Linked DNA regions of Homo sapiens: all the other regions are linked to region 3. Evidence: promoter capture Hi-C in 16 types of primary human blood cells and fetal thymus (Javierre and others, 2016). All regions are on one chromosome and are shown on one strand. Each heading gives the region's core, a stretch centred on a gene start or on the middle of the fragment in contact. The rest is flanking DNA. Distances are from core to core; before and after follow the strand shown.

The links. The method cuts DNA at HindIII sites, captures the fragments that hold promoters and counts their contacts. A CHiCAGO score of 5 or more calls a contact.
Region 1: a contact is called between a fragment that was not itself captured here and the fragment with the promoter of ESS2 in region 3, in 5 of 17 cell types (total B cells, megakaryocytes, activated CD4 T cells and 2 more). The highest score is 7.6, in total B cells.
Region 2: the fragment with the promoter of HIRA here is called in contact with the fragment with the promoter of ESS2 in region 3 in 10 of 17 cell types (total B cells, megakaryocytes, naive CD4 T cells and 7 more); the score reaches 9.4 in total B cells.
Region 4: a fragment that was not itself captured here is called in contact with the fragment with the promoter of ESS2 in region 3 in 1 of 17 cell types (total CD8 T cells); the score reaches 5.0 in total CD8 T cells.

What each region holds. Positions count from the first base shown.
Region 1 is chr22:19,452,945-19,457,907 of GRCh38, forward strand. It overlaps UFD1 (ubiquitin recognition factor in ER associated degradation 1), which reads right to left. Exons shown (of 12, transcript NM_005659.7): 8 at 3,909-3,974; 9 at 3,643-3,690; 10 at 2,736-2,824; 11 at 1,805-1,886. Among named protein-coding and RNA genes, the nearest start is that of C22orf39, 7.7 kb to the left of the region's middle. The HindIII fragment of the contact is 5,929 bases long and covers 115-4,963 here.
Region 2 is chr22:19,430,475-19,435,312 of GRCh38, forward strand. HIRA (histone cell cycle regulator) reads right to left here and starts at 1,259. Exons shown (of 25, transcript NM_003325.4): 1 at 966-1,259. The coding sequence starts at 1,002. MRPL40 (mitochondrial ribosomal protein L40) reads left to right here and starts at 2,071. Exons shown (of 4, transcript NM_003776.4): 1 at 2,071-2,133; 2 at 2,791-2,874; 3 at 4,262-4,420. The coding sequence starts at 2,081. RefSeq lists enhancers at 96-165, 114-861 and silencers at 1,146-1,545, 1,836-2,145. The HindIII fragment of the contact is 6,181 bases long and covers 1-3,618 here.
Region 3 is chr22:19,142,598-19,147,290 of GRCh38, forward strand. It overlaps ESS2 (ess-2 spliceosome associated protein), which reads right to left and starts at 2,054. Exons shown (of 10, transcript NM_022719.3): 1 at 1,909-2,054; 2 at 129-297; 3 at 1-36. The coding sequence starts at 2,043. GSC2 (goosecoid homeobox 2) reads right to left here. Exons shown (of 3, transcript NM_005315.2): 3 at 4,396-4,693. RefSeq lists an enhancer at 1,123-1,629. The HindIII fragment of the contact is 3,418 bases long and covers 1-2,449 here.
Region 4 is chr22:19,407,502-19,412,105 of GRCh38, forward strand. HIRA (histone cell cycle regulator) reads right to left here. Exons shown (of 25, transcript NM_003325.4): 2 at 3,215-3,277; 3 at 982-1,092. Among named protein-coding and RNA genes, the nearest start is that of HIRA, 22 kb to the right of the region's middle. The HindIII fragment of the contact is 732 bases long and covers 2,098-2,829 here.

The sequences.
Region 1 (4,963 bases), core at 1,829-4,328, 310 kb after region 3:
TCTGCAAAATTGTGCCCATCTTTGGGGAAACTATTTCCCTGATGATTTCTGCTCCTTTGGTTTCTGTGGCTGTTCTTCCCACAAATCCTCTATTATTTAGATGCTGGAATGGAAAGCTTTCTGACTGTGGCCTTCACTTCAGAGATAGTAGTCTAGAGACCTACTGGAGTCGAGCCTCCAGCCTTCTGGGATGGGGGAGGGAGGGTAATGCAGCTCTAACTGCTTAGTAACAGAATTCTGTCTTTAGTCCCTCATTTCTAGAGGTGCCTTTTGAGAATTCCACAATCTACACAGAACTGCTTCTAGGCTTTCTATGGTCTACTAAGGTACCTGGGGCTTCCAAAGCCTTGTAGTTGCCTCCTCTTCCACTGTCTTTCTTACCTCATGACCTTTAGCCACAGCCTTAGTGGGGCTGCAGGATGGAATAGAGCTAAATATGTCTTCAATCCCATCTTTAAACATATACTTCTTAAATACATATTTATGGTCAAACAGGCCTGCTGTGCCCACTGGCCTCCCCTGCCTTCTGTAAATTTGCAACAGTCAGGTCACAGTCAGCCTGGGGGACGTCCCATGCTAAGGTCTTAGGTCGGAGTCAGGCACTGGCTTTTAGTGAGAAAGGCAGCCTGTAGCTGGTGAAGCCTGGATGGTGCCTGAAGGAGGAGCTGGAGGGTGAGGTCTGACTGGCCACTATGTTTGCTCCTCTGAGCCTGAAAGGTCCCAATGCCCAATGCTGTTTCAACTTGAACATTGAGCCCAGAAGTGGTTGTGAGTAGGACCAGGTGTGCAAACTTCACAGTGGTCTCTGTCCCCAACCACCCCAAGTGCTAGAGAAAAGAGTTCAGTAATTGGGATGGCTCCCATGTAGCAGCTGGTCCTGAATGGGTGGCTCAGTACATCTGCCCTCTGCCCTGATCCTGGATCCTCAAGGGTCCAATCCTTTGAGAAAAGGAACCAGGAGAGCGATGGGTCTGAAGCGCTGGTGTTGTAGAAATCCTCATCACAAAGAGGTGACTGCGTTCCAGTTGCTGCCAGGCCTGGCCATATTCCCACAAAGTGCCCATGTCTACAGGATGCTCAGCCCTTGCCTTCCTCTGTCCCGCCACCACCCTGCTCAGCTAGAAGGTGCTGCCTATATTTGAAGTTCAAGGTCTCTGTTGGAAGACGAAGCCCACCCAGGGCACACAGTTCTGTGATAACAGAGCCTGGAGTCGGCTCTAGAGCAAGACAGAGCTCCTGACCCCCATGCTGCAAGTCTTCTGTTTCATACACCCTACACCAGCTCTACAGAAAAAAACAGGACACCAGGGAGCAGAGGGACCCTAGGAAAGGGAAAACATGACAGACACCCTCATGTGGTTTGGCTGCGTCCCCACCCAAATCTCATCTTGAATTACCACGTGTTGTGGGAGGGACCAGGTGGGAGGTAACTGAGTCGGTGGGAGGTAACTGAGTCATGAGGGCGGGTCTTTTCCGTGCTGTTATCATGATAGTGAATAAGTCTCATGAGATCTGATGGTTTTATAAGTAGGTGTTTCCCTGCACCAGCTTTTTCTCTGCCTGCTACCATCCATGTAAGATGTGACTTGCCCCCTGCCATGATTGTGAGGCCTCCCCAGCCATGTGAACTGTAAGTCCATTAAACCTCTTTCTTTTGTAAATTGCCCAGTCTCGGGTACATCTTTACCAGCAGCTTGGAAACAGACTAATGCACACCCCTACTCAGAATGCCAAGAACTTCAGTCATCACTAGCAAATAAATCTCCTCATTACCAACCAAGGAAATACAAGGAAATACACTCACCTCTTCAACCTTTTTGACAAGGGGACGTGAATTTCTGATGAAAGTTATCTTACCAAGTTTAAATTCATAATTGGGAATTCCTCTGTAAGAAGAGACAGAGACAGAGAAATGTTATTTCCAGGAAAAAAGGACTAAAATTCATTTTTGACAGTCAAGAGGAACGCAGAAAAGATGCTGCTGCACCCCACCTGGGCCCTTTGGTGCTTCCTGGCATCCTCCCAGGAGGGAAGCAGAAAGTAACTGACTTCTTGGTTTGGTATCAATATTGGGTATAGGGCCAGGGGCTTTAGGCTCTGTACCTGTCTATGGAGAGGGGTCATCTGAAGGATTGGGAAGCCCTCACTGTCACTGTCCTGAGCTTCACAGAACCCCCTGAGGTGGCTAGACTCTCACTCCAGTATTCTGATTTCACACACACAACAGACAACTGACACACCTCAGCCCTGCCCCTGCCATCATGGCCACCAGAGGAAGGGTCTGCTGTGGGTCCCCGGACCCAGCAACAGAAGCACATCTGAGGTAGCTCCTCAGGGAACTTTCAGGGGAACTGAGATAATGTGACCTGATTAATAATTCCAAGTCACAAAACAGGAAAATAGGCAGATCACCAAATAGGGACCAGAAAGGTTTTGAGTAAGAGACAGATCTAATCAGACTCGCATCTTAGGAAAGCCAGTGGGGGCAAGAAGAGGCTGAATTGGGGGTATGGAGAGGTATGGAGAGAGGCTGGACCACAGTGGTACTGGGGGTGGCACTGTGGAAGGAGGGGCATGTTGTGCTCCACCCCACCAAGGAGAGCAGCTAAGGGTTTTAGTCCCTTGGGAGACTACTGACCCAGGCTTTGTCTCCAGAACTGGGGTGAGGCTGCCCGACCCCAGCGGGCTGGCACAGATCCTCCTCCTGTCCTGGAGGAGAGCCAGGACAGACCTACCTTTTAATATCTCCAGGCTTGATTGGGGAGGGGCTGGGCTCTACCCCTTTCTTCTTTCCATCCAGTCTATTGCCAGATCCAGAGAAAGCCTAGACAGGAAGTAGGTGAGTCATATAATAAGCCCAAGTGTGAGGACGATATGTCCTTTGCTTGGAGATCACTGCAGGGATGTGAGCTGGGGGTGCTGTGCAGACCCCTTCAGGACTGAAGCCCTGACTCCTCAACTGCTGGGGTGCTGGCAGCTAAGAACTCTGCCCAGTTCCTCAGGGGGTGGCCATGAGCTGAAGACAGCCACTTGGCCAAGGGCAGCCAGCAGTCAGTGTTGGGTTAAAAGACCTGATCCCTGCCTCTGCAGGGCCACCCAGTTCAAGCTCTATGGGTGGGCTAAGGCTACTGTTGTGACTGCCCCATAGCTCAGCTTCCCATCATTCTGCCCTCTCTGCTGCTTCCTGGCACCTCCTGCCACCTCAGTGCCCACACATGAACCACCTCCACCTGTTTCCCATGGAGCCTTGCCAGTAGTTATGCTAAGGGTCATGTTTGCAACCTACATGGTACAGGCAAAGAAAAAAGGAAACATGATTTACAAGAGAGAGAAAGCAAATGTGGTAACTTTTGGTGAACCTAAGGGAACAGTATATGTCTACTGTACTATTTAAACTCTTCGGTAGGTTAGAAATTCTTAAAAATCTGGGCTGCCTTATGGGGCTGTTGGGAAGATTCCAGGAGAGAGTGGATACAAAAGGGTTTGGTAACTGAGCGAGTGGCAGATTTGCATATGCACAGGTACCCAGAGGCCTAACCCCTGCTGATGTCCATCGAGCATCATGGAGAACACCTTGAGTGAGTGCTCTAATTTCAAGGAGCAGAGGGCACAGCAATATAAGTCAAGTGGTCTGGTACTCACGCGGAAGCCCAGCTCTCCAGCATAGCCACTGTGGTCGGCTTCACCTTCCTGACAGGGAAAAAGAAAAACAGGTGAGCTCCTCAGCGGGGACACCCAGCTTCCCTCTCACCCCCACCCCCGGCTAGGATGTCCCCCGGAAGCATGGCTGGAAGGGACGCAGAGGATATGACTACACCAACACTAGCAGAGGCCACCCACGAGCCACTGCCAGGAACTCAAAAGCAGCATGCAGCAGGACAGCAAAGGACACTGAGGATAACACTTACTGTCGACTCCTCATGCTGGACTTGTCTTTCGGGTTCTTTGTAGCCCAGGGGAGCATCAAAGTCCACCTGTGTTTCCAGGATTTTAAAAGTAAAATATTGAGACATGACCACCCTTGGCTTCCTTTTTTGTTTTTAATTGAGACAACTGTAGATTCACATGCAGTTTTAAGAAATAATACAAAAGATGCCTTGTACACTTGCCCAGTTTTCCCAACGGTAGCATCTTACAAAATTACAGTAAAGTATTGCTGCCAGGATATCAACACTGGCACAACCCACTGCTCTTATTCAGATTTCCCCAGTTTTACATGTTTTTGTTCATGGGTATCTTTAGTTCTACACAATGTAATCACTGTGTGGGGCATGTATCCACCACAGTTGAGATGTAGAACAGTTTCACCACCACTAGGACTGCCCATGTTGTCTTTTTATAACCATACCCAGCTGTCTCCCAGCCCCCTCCACCAGTCCTAAGCCCTGGCAACCACTGGTCTGTCTTCCATTTCGAAAGTTCTGTCACTTTGAGGATGTTATATAACGAAGTAACTTTTTGGGATTGGCTTTTTTTGCTCAGCAGTATTCCCTAGTAATACAACCAGGATGCTGTGTGCATCAGCACTTCATTCCTACTCAGAAGGTTCAGTACGCTTCCTTAGCTCTTAAGCATATTCACTCCTCGGCCAGGCGCGGTGGCCCACACCTGTAATCTCAGCACTTTGGGAGGCCGAGGCGGGTGGATTACCTGAGGTCAGGAGTTTGAGACCAGCTTGGCCAACATGGTAAAACCCTGTCTCTACCAAAATACAAAACTAGCCGGGCCTGGTGGCACATGCCTGTAATCCCAGCTACTCGGGAGGCTGAGGCAGGAGAATCGCTTGAACCTGGGAGGTGGAGGTTGTAGTGAGCCAAGATCGCACCACTGCACTCCAGCCTGGGCAACAGGAGTGAAACTAAGTCTCAAAAAAAAAAAGAATATTCACTCCTCAACGGGTCAGAGCTAACCATGGCAGCACTGGCAGCAAACTCTGTTGCCCCAACTGGCCCTGAGATAGATC
Region 2 (4,838 bases), core at 9-2,508, 290 kb after region 3:
ACGGTAGCACCCTGTAGTCGCACTGCAAAGTAGAAATGAGGAACAAGACAGCATCAGGGTGACCCTTTGCCTGTCAACAGTCAGACAGGCCAGAATCAGGCCCTGGGCTGGAGGAGTCTCCCTGGGTTGATTTCTGTGCTACAGTGCTGTCAGCAGAGTGGGGTGGGGGAGGGGGAGGCGCGCTTTTTTCATCTACCCGGGGAGCAAACACCAACTCCTGCAGCAGTTCTGCCAACAAGGCAGAACTATGACGAAACTGATTACCACTAGCCTCTCTGTATCAGAGTCAAGATATGGGGTGGATGAGTCCGTTCCCCAAGGGTGTGCTTTGGAGCCACTGCCACAGAGCTAAGAAGCCCCTCTGCTAGAACACACCTGTGCCCTATCTGCCCAACCCTAGTTCACCCTGATGTCCCAGCTCAGCATTAATCGTGGATCCTTCGCGGGGGCCCGGGGCCCCCAAACCCTCCTATTTAGGGACCACAATTCCCCAACTGGGGGCACTGTCCCCAGATCCAGAGGGGCAGTAACAGTCCCTCTTGCAGATTTCGGATCTTCATCCTGCCACTGAAAGGCCACAAGGGGGATTTCATCCCGGTTTCACCTTCAGGACCGTCTGAGCACTTCTCGGGCGATGCAGACCAGTGGAAGGCACTGGCTGGCACCAAGGCCCGCTCCTGGGAGCCAGGCCGCGGCCCCTCCAAGGACCACAGGTGGGCAGCGGAAGACTCAGAGCAAGAGCCAGGGGCGAAGATGGCCCTCGCTGCGGTCAACCCGGAGCACGTGCTGGGGCTCACCAGCCTCTCCGCGCTGAGGACAAAGTCCGCTCCCGCCGGCTTCTTGGCTTGGGCACCGGGTACCGGGCGTCAGGGGCGAGACAGGCAGGACTTGCGCGCGCCCCGACTCGACTCCAGACCCCGACCCGACTCCGGGCTCGGCCTCCCGCGACCCCTGCGCGCACTCACCATTGTGGTTGACCCAGGTCGGCTTCAGGAGCTTCATTGTTCGGCCGCCGCCGCCGCCGGGCTGAGGCGAGCGCCGGGTCCCTCAGCGCGCCCGGGCCATGGAGCCACCGCCGCCGCTTCCTCCCGCGCCACCCGCCCTCCGGCCGCCGCCCGCCCCGCGCCCTCAGGGCCGCCGCGCCATCGCCGGCCCGCGCCCCCCTCCGCCGCCACAGCCGCCACCCGCGCTCGGCCGCCGCCGCCGCCACCACAGCCGCATCCCCTGCGCCGCTCCTCCTCAGGCGGCTCCCGGGCAACGCCGGAAGTCACGGCGCGCACCTGCCAAATCGCCCCGGCGGGAAACCGCTCCCCACGCGGACTGGGCCGCCCCGGCTCCTCCGCTGGCAGGGGCTTCGGGTCGGGCCCGGGCGCGGGCGCCCCAGAAAGGGCGGTTCGCCTGGACGGCGGACAGCGAGCGGGGCCTGCAGTTGCAACCCGGGCCGCCCGCAGAGGCAGGCGGGGCCCAGGTGGCGTGGACCGCCCGTCACCAGCTCTGCCTCGCCAGTCTGAGTCCGACTTATTAACTAGCTTCCGTCATTCATCAACACGCGCTATTGGGCATCTTGCGAGCGCCGGGCTCCGCGCCGGCGCCGGAATGCGATCCGGGCTTCGGACTCGAACGAATGCGGGGGACGAGCCAACCCTGGTGGGGGAGGCTGGGGCGGACGCGTTTATTAGAAGATCGGGGCCGTTTGCCTAGACATGAACATTTGGACTCGGAGGAGCAGAGGGACGCCCCCTCGGCCGCTCCGGCTGCACTGCGGAGCCGAGGCCCGCGCGAGGGCGCAGACCGACCAACCGGCTAGGGCCTGACTGGCTAGACTGTGCCCGCTGCAGAGGCGCGCTCCCAGCACAGGGCGGGGACGGAAGGGAGGACCCCGAGCCGCGTGAAACGCAAGGCCCTCGTGTGTGCGCAGCTGACACCCTAGGCGGGGCTGCGTCGGGGGCGGGGACAGGCGCGTCCCAGCCCACGCAGCCGGAACGCCTGAGCGCTGGGCGCCTGGTCTGCCGGACCTCAGCAGGGGGCACCGCGGGCCGGACTGTGGAGGGGCGCACGCCCGGAAGCGGCGAGGGTAGCCATGACGGCCTCCGTGCTGCGAAGTATCTCGCTAGCCCTGCGCCCGACTAGCGGGTGAGTGCGGACGCTGGCCGGATAGCGGAGTGCCCAGGGCGCGTGCGGGGTCTTCGCGACTGTCCGCCAGGACTCGCCTGTGCTCCCTGCTCGCCTCCCAGTCCACGAATATCTCAGGGATGAGCCATCTGGTCGTGACTCTTATGCATGAAAATCTGAGCACCCTGGCGAGCAGCGGTCCTGCTTAAGTCCTCTGTGGTCTGAACGAAAGATTTTGAAAAACCTTCCACGTTGACCTTGCTGTCATATCAAGTAGTTAGAAGTGCCCCGGGTTTGGGAGCATTGCAATTTTTTATTTTCCTGTGAAGTGGGAGAGAATCAGATATTTATTTATTTATTTGAGACAGAGTCTCGCTCTGTCGCCCAGGCTGGAGTGCAGTGGCGCGATTTCGGCTCACTGCAACCTCTGCCTCCCGGGTTCAAGCAGTTCTGCCCCGGCCTCCCGAGTAGCTCGGATTACAGGCGCCCAACACCACGCCCGGCTAATTTTTGTATTTTTAGTAGAGACGGGGTTTCACCATGTTGGCCAGGCTGGTCTTGAACTCCTGACCTCGCGATCCACCCGCCTCGGCCTCCCAAAGTGCTGGGATTACAGACGTGAGCAACCGCGCCTAGCCTGGAGAAGCAGATATTTATACATACTCTTGTATCTTTCAGGCTTCTGGGAACTTGGCAGACGCAGCTTAGAGAGACTCACCAGCGAGCGTCATTGTTGTCTTTCTGGGAACTCATTCCCATGAGGTAAAACTCAATCGAGGGCCTGACCTCTGGGGGTAAAGGTGTCAGTCTATGTGTAGAGAACAAAGCAAGAATGCTGGATGTGTGGTTTGCAAAATTAACAGCCTACAAAGTTTCTCAGTTAAATTTAGGCCGATGCTTTTCTGTTTTTCCAACATTTTCCAAACCATAGATTGTTGTTTGTAATTTTTAAAATTTGAGCAGTTTCTCAAGAAGTAAGTATTCTCCTTGAAGGGATTCTTGTGTGTTTTAAAGGACACAGCTTAAGTTTCTGTTTCTCCATGACCCTTCCTCTTCCCTGCCCATTCGGAGGCCCTGGAGAGTGTGGGGAAGATGCAAGTATTAAAGGTATTTCCATCTGGCACTCTCGACTCTTTGTAGATACTTGATTCAGTCAATCTTGATAGTAAAGGATTTGATTTTTCTTTTTTTTTTGAGATGGAGTCTCACTGTGTCACCCAGGCTGGAGTGCAGTGGTGTGACCTCGGATCACTGCAACCTTCGCCTCCTGGGTTAAACTAATTCTCCTGCCTCAGCCTCCCAAGTAGCTGGGATTACAGGCGCCCACTACCACGCCCGGCTAATTTTTGTGTTTTTAGTAGAGACGGGGTTTCACCATGTTGGATGTTGGTCAGGCTGGTCTCGAACTCCTGATCTCAGGTGATCCACCCACCTCAGCACCCAAAGTGCTGGGATTACAGGCCTGAGCCACCGCACCCAGTCCACAAATCAATTTTAATAGTAATAAGCTTCTAATCTAACAGTTTGGTATTTTCACTTTTGAGTGTAATCCCAAGGCACACCTGAATCCCAGCAATAAAGAGGAACACTTCCCGATTTTATACCCTGATGCCTCTTGTTGCTTTTGTACTTTTTTTTTTTTTTTTTTTTTTTTGAGACAGAGTCTCGCTCTGTTACCCAAGCTGGAGTGCAGTGGCGCGATCTTGTCCTACTGCAACCTCCGCCTCCCAGGCTCAAGTGATTCTCCTGCCTCAGCTTCCCGAGAAGCTGGGATTACAGGTGCGCACCACCACACCCAGCTAATTTTTGTATTTTTAGTAGAGACAGGGTTTCGCCATGTTGACCAGGCTGGTCTCGAACTCCTGACCTTGGGCAATCTGCCCGCCTTTGCCTCCCAAAGTGCTGGGATTACAGGCCTGAGCCACTGCACCCGGCTGCTTTTGTACTATTTCTTGTAATTGATGGCACCTACACAGTTCTCACAAGTACTGTGGGGTGGAGTACCTCCTCACCACGCTGAGCTCATGAGTTAGTCATGCACAGCTCCTTCCCCCAGTGGAGAGGTCAGTATGGGGTACTTACCATCTTGTCTCTCAGTAGGTTCATGAGACCAAAGAGGAAAATGTTTAATATTTGCTTTATCTATTAGATCAGAACCTCTTCGAAAAAAGAAGAAGGTAGATCCTAAAAAAGACCAAGAAGCAAAGGAGCGCTTGAAAAGGAAGATCCGAAAACTGGAAAAGGCTACTCAAGAGCTAATTCCTATTGAAGATTTTATTACCCCTCTAAAGTTCTTGGATAAAGCAAGGTAAGGATCCTTCTCTAGGGATGAAGTCCTCAGGACAAAGGAGTAATATCAACTTCAGGTAGTTGTGTCTGTAGTTCACACCTGTGATAGTCATTGGTCAGTAGGCTTGAGCTGACTTGGCCCTAATGAGTCCTTGCTCCTTTTGGAAGCAGGAGAAAGCATCCTTGGGTGGTACTCTTGAATGGCTCTGGGTGGGAAAGAACCTAAGACATCTAATAATCCAGATGCTTAAGCACTGCTCTGGAGTTCATGTTGTTGCTGTCATGCATGAGGAGTCTTGGCTGTTTCTGATCCCTTGGGCCTGGAGTCTGAAGCCCTCGCCTCATCCTAACAGTAGAAAACCCTTGGCCTCCTGTTTTATCATGCAGATATCTTTGGTTGGTATTTGTTGGGATTCTACTGTGTGCAGGGTTAACAG
Region 3 (4,693 bases), core at 804-3,303:
GCACCTCAGGGGTTTCAAATGTGGCTGGAGTCACATCTAGGGGAAGAGAGGGGGATAAGAATTAGAGTGAGCCTGAAGCGACAGTTCAGCAGGCTTTCCCCTCTCCGCCACCCACAGGGTCCTCATACAGGGTGGCGGGGGCTCCCGGGACATCTTGCCCAAGGCAGAGCCAAACTTGATGGCAATCTGGCGCATCCGTTCCAAGTCTCCATTCTCCTCGGCTTCCAGGTACTCCTTCTGTGCCTGGAGCTTCTCCACATCAGGAAAGAAATCCCTTTGGATGACCGTCTGGAGGCCCTGCAAGGAGAGATCAGAATGAAAGTCAGAGGCCAGGCGCGGTGGCTCACACCTGTAATCCCAACACTTTGGGAGGCCAAGGGAGGTGGATCATGAGGTCAGAAGTTCAAGACCAGCCTGGCCAACATGGTGAAACCCAGTCTCTACTAGAAATACAAAAATTAGCCGGGCGTGGTGGCAGGCACCTGTAATTCCAGCTACGTGGGAGGCTGAAGCAGAAGAATCGCTTAAACTCGGGAGGCGGAGGTTGCAGTGAGCCAAGATCACACCCCTGCACTCCAGCCTGGGCGACAGAGCGAGACCGTCTCAAAAAAAAAAAAAAAAAAGAAAAAAGAAAGTCGGAGCTGCAGTCTGGGTGCTCCTGCCTCACAGGTCCACTGCTGTACATGCTAAGGAACTTGCTGAACCTCCTTCAAATTCTACTTCCCCAATGACTGGGGCTGGATTGAGGGAGCTTGAGGGCACTTTCTAGTGGGGTTGAGCATCCCATATGGTAGCCATGCTGCAACCTCTAACATTACTAAACACTCTTCTGAAGTCCGTGAAACCCTTCTCTCTCGCCCTTGCTAACTGGTCATTCTCATTCTCCATTGCTGGCTCCCCACAAGCCAGACCAATGTGGGTGTTGTCACTTTCATTCCACACATGACTTTCTATTTCCAATCTAAACCTTTCTCCTGGCGGGGCATGGTAGCTCACGCCTGTAATCCCAGCACTTTGAGAGGCCAAGGCGGGCGGATCACCTGAGGTCAGGAGTTCGAGACCAGCCTGGCCAACATGGTGAAACCCCACCACTACTAAAAATACAAAAATTAGCCGGGCGTGGTGGCGGGCACCTGTAGTCACAGCTACTCGGCAGGCTGAGGCAGGAGAATGGCTTGAACCCAGGAGGCAGAGGTTGGTTACAGTAAGCCGAGATCGCGCCACTGCACTCCAGCCTGGACGACGAGCGAGACTCCGTCTCAAAAAATAAAATAAAAATAAACCTTTTTCCTGAGTAACTTCAGCCAGTCACTACCACAAGTTGAGATTCCCAAGTCTGCACCTCCAGCCAGACCTTGCTCCCGAGCTGCATATCTGGGCACCCAACCGTCCGTTAAAGCCATCCATCTACATATCCCAAAAGGTGTCCCGAATTAAACAGGTCTAAAACCAAACTGACTTCCGCCAATCCCCGTTTCAGCTCCTCCTTCTGTGTGCGTGTGGTGGGGCGACGCAGGTCCACTCACTCGAGATGCTGTCACAACTGCGGTCTCTTTCCAGGAACCCCAGCATTCACACTTGCTGCCACCGCTCTTTAGAAAGCCCTCTTTGCCACCATCCTTCCAGTTTGTCAAACTCCTACTCACACTTTAACAGAAAATCTTCTTTCCCTGACCCCCGTCCCATACAAAGAGAGCCGCTCTCTCTTTTCCCTGACAACACTACTACAGCCTCTTCCACCACAGACGTCTTCCTCTGCCCTGTTTACTTGACTCGTGGGACCGTCCACACCCGGCTCCTCCACTTCCACGAGGAGACGGAGTGTCAACACCCGAGAGAGGGAACCTGAGAGGAGCTTGAAGCAGAGGATGGGCCCAGAAGTCGCCGGCGTCCGCACCGAGGTCGTACCTCGATATACTCTTCCTCGTCCAGGACCCGCTGCTTGCTCGTCGCAGCCCCAGCCTCTCCCGCCTCGCGCTTCCTCGGGGGCCTGGACGCGGCGGGAAGCAACAAGGACGACGCTGATGCGCCCGGCGTCTCCATCGCTATCCCAGGAAAAAGCTCGGGCCCAGCAGGCGCGTCACAGGGTGGAGGGGGCGGGACTGCACCATTTGCGCAGGCGCCTCCAATAGTTGGCCAATGGAAAAGCTGTGGCTCTAGAAAGCCAGCCCGCGCTCCGTTCTGACGTCACTATAAATGCTAGACTTTATTGGAAATGTAGTCCTTGTCCTGCCCCGCGCTATTCATGCTTGTCAATGCTGTGAACACGAGGGGGTGCTGTGGAGGTGGCGGGGAGGATGCTATAGGGCGTGTTCTTCACGCGAGAAATTCTGGCTTTGCAGCGTCCAAAGGCCTTAGAATTCTAATTTCCCACAAATAAGAACTATGTATGCTTCGAGATTATTCTACAAAAATACAAACCAGGAAATTTACTTATATAGGAGTTTCAAGCTTTATGCAAGAAAAGGGCCTTAAAACAATTTTTTTTTTGAGACGGAGTTTCGGTCTTGTTGCCCAGGCTGGAGTGCAATGGCATGATCTCGGCTCACCGGAGTTCCCGGGTTCAAGGGATTCTCCTGCCTCAGCCTCCCGAGTAGCTGGGATTACAGGCATGGGCCACCACGCCCGGCTAATTTTGCATTTTTAGTAGAGACAGGGTTTCTCTATGTTGGTCAGGCTGGTCTCTGGATTACAGGCGTGAGCCACCGCACCCGGCCAAAACAATCTTTTTTTTTTTTTTATAGTTATCTAACAAAAGGTGAAAGAACAAGACAGTGGTTCGATTAAGAAATGTCTAAAGATTATTCTGTAATCCCAGAACTTTGAGAGGCCAAGACAGGCGGATCACCTGAGGTCAGGAGTTCTAGACCAGCCTGGCCAACAAGATGAAACCCCATCTCTACTAAAAACACACAAAAAAATTAGCTGGGCATGGTGGTGGACGCCTGTAATCCCAGCTACTCGGAAGGCTGAGGCTGGAGAATTGCTTGAACCCAGGAGGCGGAGGTTGCAGTGAGCTGAGATTGCACCATTGCACTCCAGCCTGGGTAACAAGAGCAAAACTCTGTCAAAAAAAAAAAAAAGATTATTGGGCCCCCAAATGCCAGAGTGGGCTTCCCAGAAGAGGGATCATTCTCATTCAAGACCAGGCACGGTGGCTCACGCCTGTAACCTCAGCACTTTGGGAGACCCAGGCAGGTGGATCACTTGAAGTCAGGAGATTGAGACCAGCCTGGCCAACATGGTGAAACCCCAACTCTACTAAAAAAAAAAAAAAATACAAAGTGGTGGTAGGTGCCTGTAGTCCCAGCTACTTGGGAGGCTGAGGCAGGAAAATCACTCAAACCCAGGAGGTGGAAACTGCAGTGAGCAGAGATTGTGCCACTGCACTACAGCCTGGGTGACAGAGTGAAACTCTGTCAAGAAAAAAAAAAATTAATATTCAAGTGAACCAGAAAATTGCCTCGGCATTTTTAAGGAATTTCTTCCCAAACGAAAGATGTGAATTGTGTTGGACAAATAAATTCCGCCCTGGAACAATTTAATACAATTTTGCTTTTGCAACATACAGGGATACCTTCATTCACTGAAGTGCAGCGTGCTGCTGCTGCCCTTGTAGAAGTGACAGTGCAATGGGGAAGACAGAGACACTTGTTAGATCATCACACAAACAGGTGTAAAATTGCAGCTGTGTCCGTGCAAGAAAAGAGTTTGTACTTGGGGAATCTTGACCTAGTTCGGGAGGTCAGAGAAGCTTCCCCAGGCAGAAAGTGATTGCAGATTCAAAAGACGAACAAACCGGCAACAGTCAGGTGGAAAGAGCATGTGCAAAGGCCTAGTGGTGGGAGGGAGCAAGGCAAGTTCTAAAGAAGTCCTTTGGAAATGCAGAGTGCAGTGAGGTGTGAGATGATGCCAGAGAGGCAGGGCCAGGCTGCACAGGGCCTTGTAGGGTATGGTGAGGTGGTTTGTCTTCATTCTGAATTGAAGGGGCAGGCCAGGCACAGTGGCTCATGCCTATAATCCCAGCACTTTGGAAGGCCTAGGCCGGCGGATAGTTTGAGGTCAGAAGTTTGAGACCAGCCTGGCCAACATGGCAAGACCTCATCTCTACAAAAAACTTTTCAAGTTAGTCGGGTGTGGTGGTGCCCACCTGTGGTCCTAGCTACTCAGAAGGCTGATGGGGGAGGATCGCTTGAGCCCAGGAGCTGGAGGCTATAGTGAGCCATGATTGCACCACTACACTCCAGCTTGGGTGATGGAGCGAGACCTTGTCTCAAACCAACCGACAAACAAAAAAGCAGAGCCAGTGTGGTGCAGGTGGACAAGATTAGAGACAGTTGCAGTGGTCAAGGTGAGAGGTGACGGTGGCTTACATCAGACTGGTGCAGTTAGAGCTGGAGAGATTCTGGGATTTATTGATTTATTGATAAACAGTAAAACTGACTTCCTGTCAGCCTGGGTATAGTGGATGATCAGGAGAGGGAGGGGTCCAGGGACCAGTTTCGGGTGGGCGGCTAGCTCTCTGGCTCATGTGCCTGGTTTGCACAGAAGAGCTCACTGTGGACAAGGTGACCTTAAGGAGTCTGTGGGCTTCAAGGGGACAGCTGGAGATAAATACCTGGCTCAGGGGAAGTGCCTGGCTTGAGATGTAAATGTGGCAGAAAGATGGGAATTGGAGTCTGAGGGTAAAAGA
Region 4 (4,604 bases), core at 1,214-3,713, 270 kb after region 3:
TGAGAATCGTTAGTGCTGAATGACATAGTCAATAGAAGGCTTCTTTCTAAGAAAATCAAAAAATGATAACCAAATCTCATTATTTCAAAAGGGTCATCTATTAATGAGACACATTTCTGAGTAGAGATTATTCTCAAAAAAAGAGTACGTGCTAAAAAGGGTCAGATGCTTTTTCTAGATTTTTCAGATGAACAGTCTGTTACAGTATAAAACTCTGACTTCATCTCATCTGTCAGAGCCAGCCCTGTCACATTCGGATTTTCCAAACTCGCCAGCACTGCAGATTGACTGACTCTGCGCTTATAAGCTAAGATCAGCAGAAATTCCCCCAGGCCCCTGATGGGCCAGAGCCTCCAAGAGCACTCACAACTTGGCCTTTGGAAGACCTGAAAGATGGCTATCAAAGTTGTAGCCCCCACATGGCCCGTGAGTAACATGCTCCAGGTCTGAAGACACTGAGAGGCATGTTGAGAGGACAAGAACACACAGAGGAAAGGAAGGAGCTGATGTCCAAAGGCCAGTGACTGTTCATTAAGCATCTCAGGGGTGGGAAACTAAGGCACTACAGCAGGAAAGGAAACCATCACACTGTCTGATGGCCAAAAGGGTCCTGGCAGAGAGCCTCAGAGTGACACAGTAACAACCTGAGATGTTTTGGCAAATTGTCTCTTGCGCACCCTTCCCCAGAACCCTACTGTGTCCAGGTCGCTGGCCCCAAAGCCCCATGGAATCAGGCAGTAACGACTCATGAGCAGGAAATCACCAGAGGTACCTGCAGACTGTCCAAAGATGGTTCTGTGGGCGGGCCGAGTCTTCTGCTGAATAACTCACCCAGGTGTGCAGCCAACATCTGTGCCTTCAGACAGCAGGCCGAGGGGAGTTACCGCCGCACGGGGCCTTATCTTTCTAATTACAAACACATGTGCTAACCTTGGGCACTCTGCCAACACGCAAAGCCTGCAAAGGGCCACTCTGTAATACCTAAGTGATTGTCCATCTGGCAAAGCATCTTGGGAATATTTTCATCCTTCTCGTCATCCTCCTGGAGGACTGGAGACATATTCCAGATCACAACCTTCCCAGAATCCTGCCCTGGAACAAAGGAGCAGAAATGGCTGAATGTGCAAGGAGTAGAAATTTGATATTAATATTTAATGTCAAATTAAATTAGGAGAAGTCCTCACTTAGCTTCCATAAACAATAATTAACTAGATCTAAGGAGACTGAATTTAAATTACTAATTTAAGTTACAGAAAAGATGATAAGTACTCATGGGGACGAAACGGAGCGGACTTAGCAGTCAGCAGAAGTCAACCTGACTTTACAAAAAGAACTTTAGACTAGCAATCAGGAGGGAACTGAGCTCTGATCTGGCCTCTAACACGGATCCACCAGGGGTCCCTAAAAGGTCTTCATCCCTGCCCAGCACCTAGACTCCGACTCCTTGACTCCTCATCTGTGAAATGAGGAGAAGGGAAAGTCAATGTCATAAGACCTTTTCTGTTCTGTGTACACCCTAAAAAGCAAACAGAAAAGCACACCCTAGTGGGGTTTCCCTCCCCTTCCAGGTGCTGCCTGGAATTTAGGCTGTTCCAGAGCCGACTGTTTTGAGACCCAAATGTACCCTGAACACAGGAAAAATGGCTCATTATCTTGTTATCCACCCTTTGCAGTTACCTACAGACGAGAGACCACCAAAAGAGGGGATTTAGGGCTCCCGTGGTCATGAGTTGATGTATTGCTCGGCTAAAAAATATACCCATGCCTTTTAGTAATGATTTCTTTTCTTTTTTTTTTTTTGAGATGGAGTCTCACTCTGTCTCCCAGGCTGGAGTGCAGTGGCACGATCTCGGCTCACTGCAACCTCCGCCTCGCAGGTTCCAGCGATTCTCCTATCTCAGCCTCCCGACTAGCTGGGATTACAGGCGAACACCATGACACCTAGCTAATTTTTGTATTTTTAGTAGAGACGGGGTTTCGCCATGTTGGCCAGGCTGATTCGAACTCCTGACCTCAGATGATTCGCCTGCCTTGGCCTCCCAAAGTGCTGAAATCACAGGCGTGAGCCACCGTGCCCAGCCTTAGTAATGATTTCTAAGCTTTCCATCACTGATATCTAACGAAGTTTAGCCCCTCACTTAATTTTCCTATTATAATAGGGCCAAATCCAATGAACATGCCAAAATTACCATAAAGCATGTTTGAAACTGCCTCTTGGCCAATATGTAAAAGTATTTCCAAAACATCTCTGCTGGACCAAGGTGGCAAAATGTGTGTCTTCTGGGTACAGGTGCGAACCCTCTGATTCCTTCAGCTAAGTCCATGTGTTCTCTCTCATGTGCTGCACCTCCTCCTCTCGGGTGCAGTCCACAGCATGGAAGGAGAGAAAGGCTTCCCTGCCCACAGCTTCCCTACACTCCCTTCCAGCTCCTTGATTCTGGGTGGAAGCATCTGCTGGAAACCCACCCTGCAGCACCTGGCCTGAGGACCTAGAGCTCACAAAGGCACTCTCTAAGTGCTGCCTGGGGAGGCCTGGTTGGAGGGAGGCCCCGCTCTGGGGTAAAGATGACAGAGGGCTGGGCTCTGTGGAATGCTACATTGTGTCACTATATATACATCTTGGTATTGTGGCATGAAGAACAGCTCTGTCTTTCCAAATAGAACCATGCAACATTGCAAAAGATGCTGGCTGAAGCATAAGGGCAATACTACCAATAACAGTTTCAAATGGTGTGGGCTTTCTTACTTGCCCACAGTGTGCTTTCTCTTTAACCTAACTGAATTCCTTTGACGAGAAAATGGGCCTAATAACTACACGATTGCTTTAGAAGCTTAAATTACCCTCATTCCCTTTTTTCAGATGAGAAAAATGCTGACAGAGCCCTTGTCTCTGGGGCTGGGCTTTGCCCACTGGACCACCTACCGCTCTCGATGCTCTACAAGTTTGGGGATACAAACTGATTTTAATATTAACTCAATAAACAGAAATTAGAATGATACATCCGCTGCCAAAATACTTACAGAGAGCACACTAAAGCCATAAAAGGATTTTGATTTTATTCATTCAGATAACACATTATAACTGTACATTTTAAACAGCGTTGCATCCATCCTGAAAAATAGCAAGTATTCCCTCTACAGCTAAATGGACAGCAGGAGAAGAGCAAGGTGGCAGGGCTGTTAAGCTTTCCCTTTCTTTATTCCATAAACATACCTTGTCCTCCAGTTGCGAACTTGGTCCCGTCAGGGTGAATATCAACTGAAAAAATCGGCTTGCCTGGAAACAAAGAAAAAAAAATACAGTATCTAAATTGGCTTTTATTCATTGAAGTGTATCAAACTCAACAGATTCAGTTAAAGTCTAAACTGCTAGAAGATTCTCCAAACATCAGACAACTGAAAGTCCAACAGTGGGAGAAAGCATTCCATCACTGAGAATGGCTGAGCCCATAGGATGCCTGGGCATTTGTCTGCCATCTTGTAGGGATGTGTGTTTGTAATGGCTATGAGCTGTTCATGATTGAAGTTCTGAGTCTCAGGTACTTAGTGAAAAGGGCACACAGCTGTAACTCCAGACATCTCCCTATTGCATGGATCTGCACTTGACTGGCAGCCTAGACAGAAGGACTGCTATTTGTCTTTTCTGGCTGACAGCTGAGCAGGACCAGCGCTGGCTGCAACCAAGGAGCATTGCTTCGCTTGTCATACTTCTGCTTCCAAACAGCCCTCTTTTGTTTGTGCTGTGAAGTTCCCATACCGTCTGCCATCTCAGCATCTCCTCTGGCTGAACCTCCTTCACAGTTTGTACTCTATGTTAAATTAGCTGTTCAATTCCTCCAGGAGAAAGGACTGTGGCTATTAGTTCTTAGAAGCCCCAAAGAGCCCAGTATGGGCCTAGGCTTGCACTAGGATCCCATGAAGCTAGCTGGCTGGCTGGGTGGGTGGATCAGACCGGCAAAAGCACTGTAGGAGCTTGAAACCCAGCAGACCATAGAAGGCACTCACGCCTGGTGGGCATTTGTCCAGCTCCCTGCTTCTAGGACAAAGGTTTAAGAGCTACAAGTGGCATGTCAGTTGCTGTTGAGTTCATCACATCTTCAGCCTCTAGCACAGTACCCAGTGTACAGTAGCGCAGTAATATTTGTTCATTGACAAAGGAGATACATGACAATGATCTGAGCATCAACAATTGCTGATATAGATGGGCTGTTGCCAAGAGTCTCTTAATTGAACATGTTCTGTCTCTGTCACCCAAGAGGAGGCAATGTGGACACAGTACCAGAGTCACCAGCCCTAGAATCACTCAGCAAGTACTGGGATCAGGAGTGTGTGGGCAGGCAGTGGCTGTCTGAGAACTGTGAAGTCCTGCCAGGGCTCCCATGCAAGTGTGAAAATTAAATGCTGGTGCCCAAAAGGCACTGCCCAGCATGGGACCCAGGCAGCACCCAGCTGTGGAGAGCCGCAGCCATGTAGTCAAATCAAGCATGAACTTGAGATAAAATACACTTTCCTTCTTACTGGTCACTATGTAGTATAGGTTGAGTATCCCTTATCTGAAACACCTGGGACCCGTTTTAACCAAAGGGAAATGACAGAAGTAATGT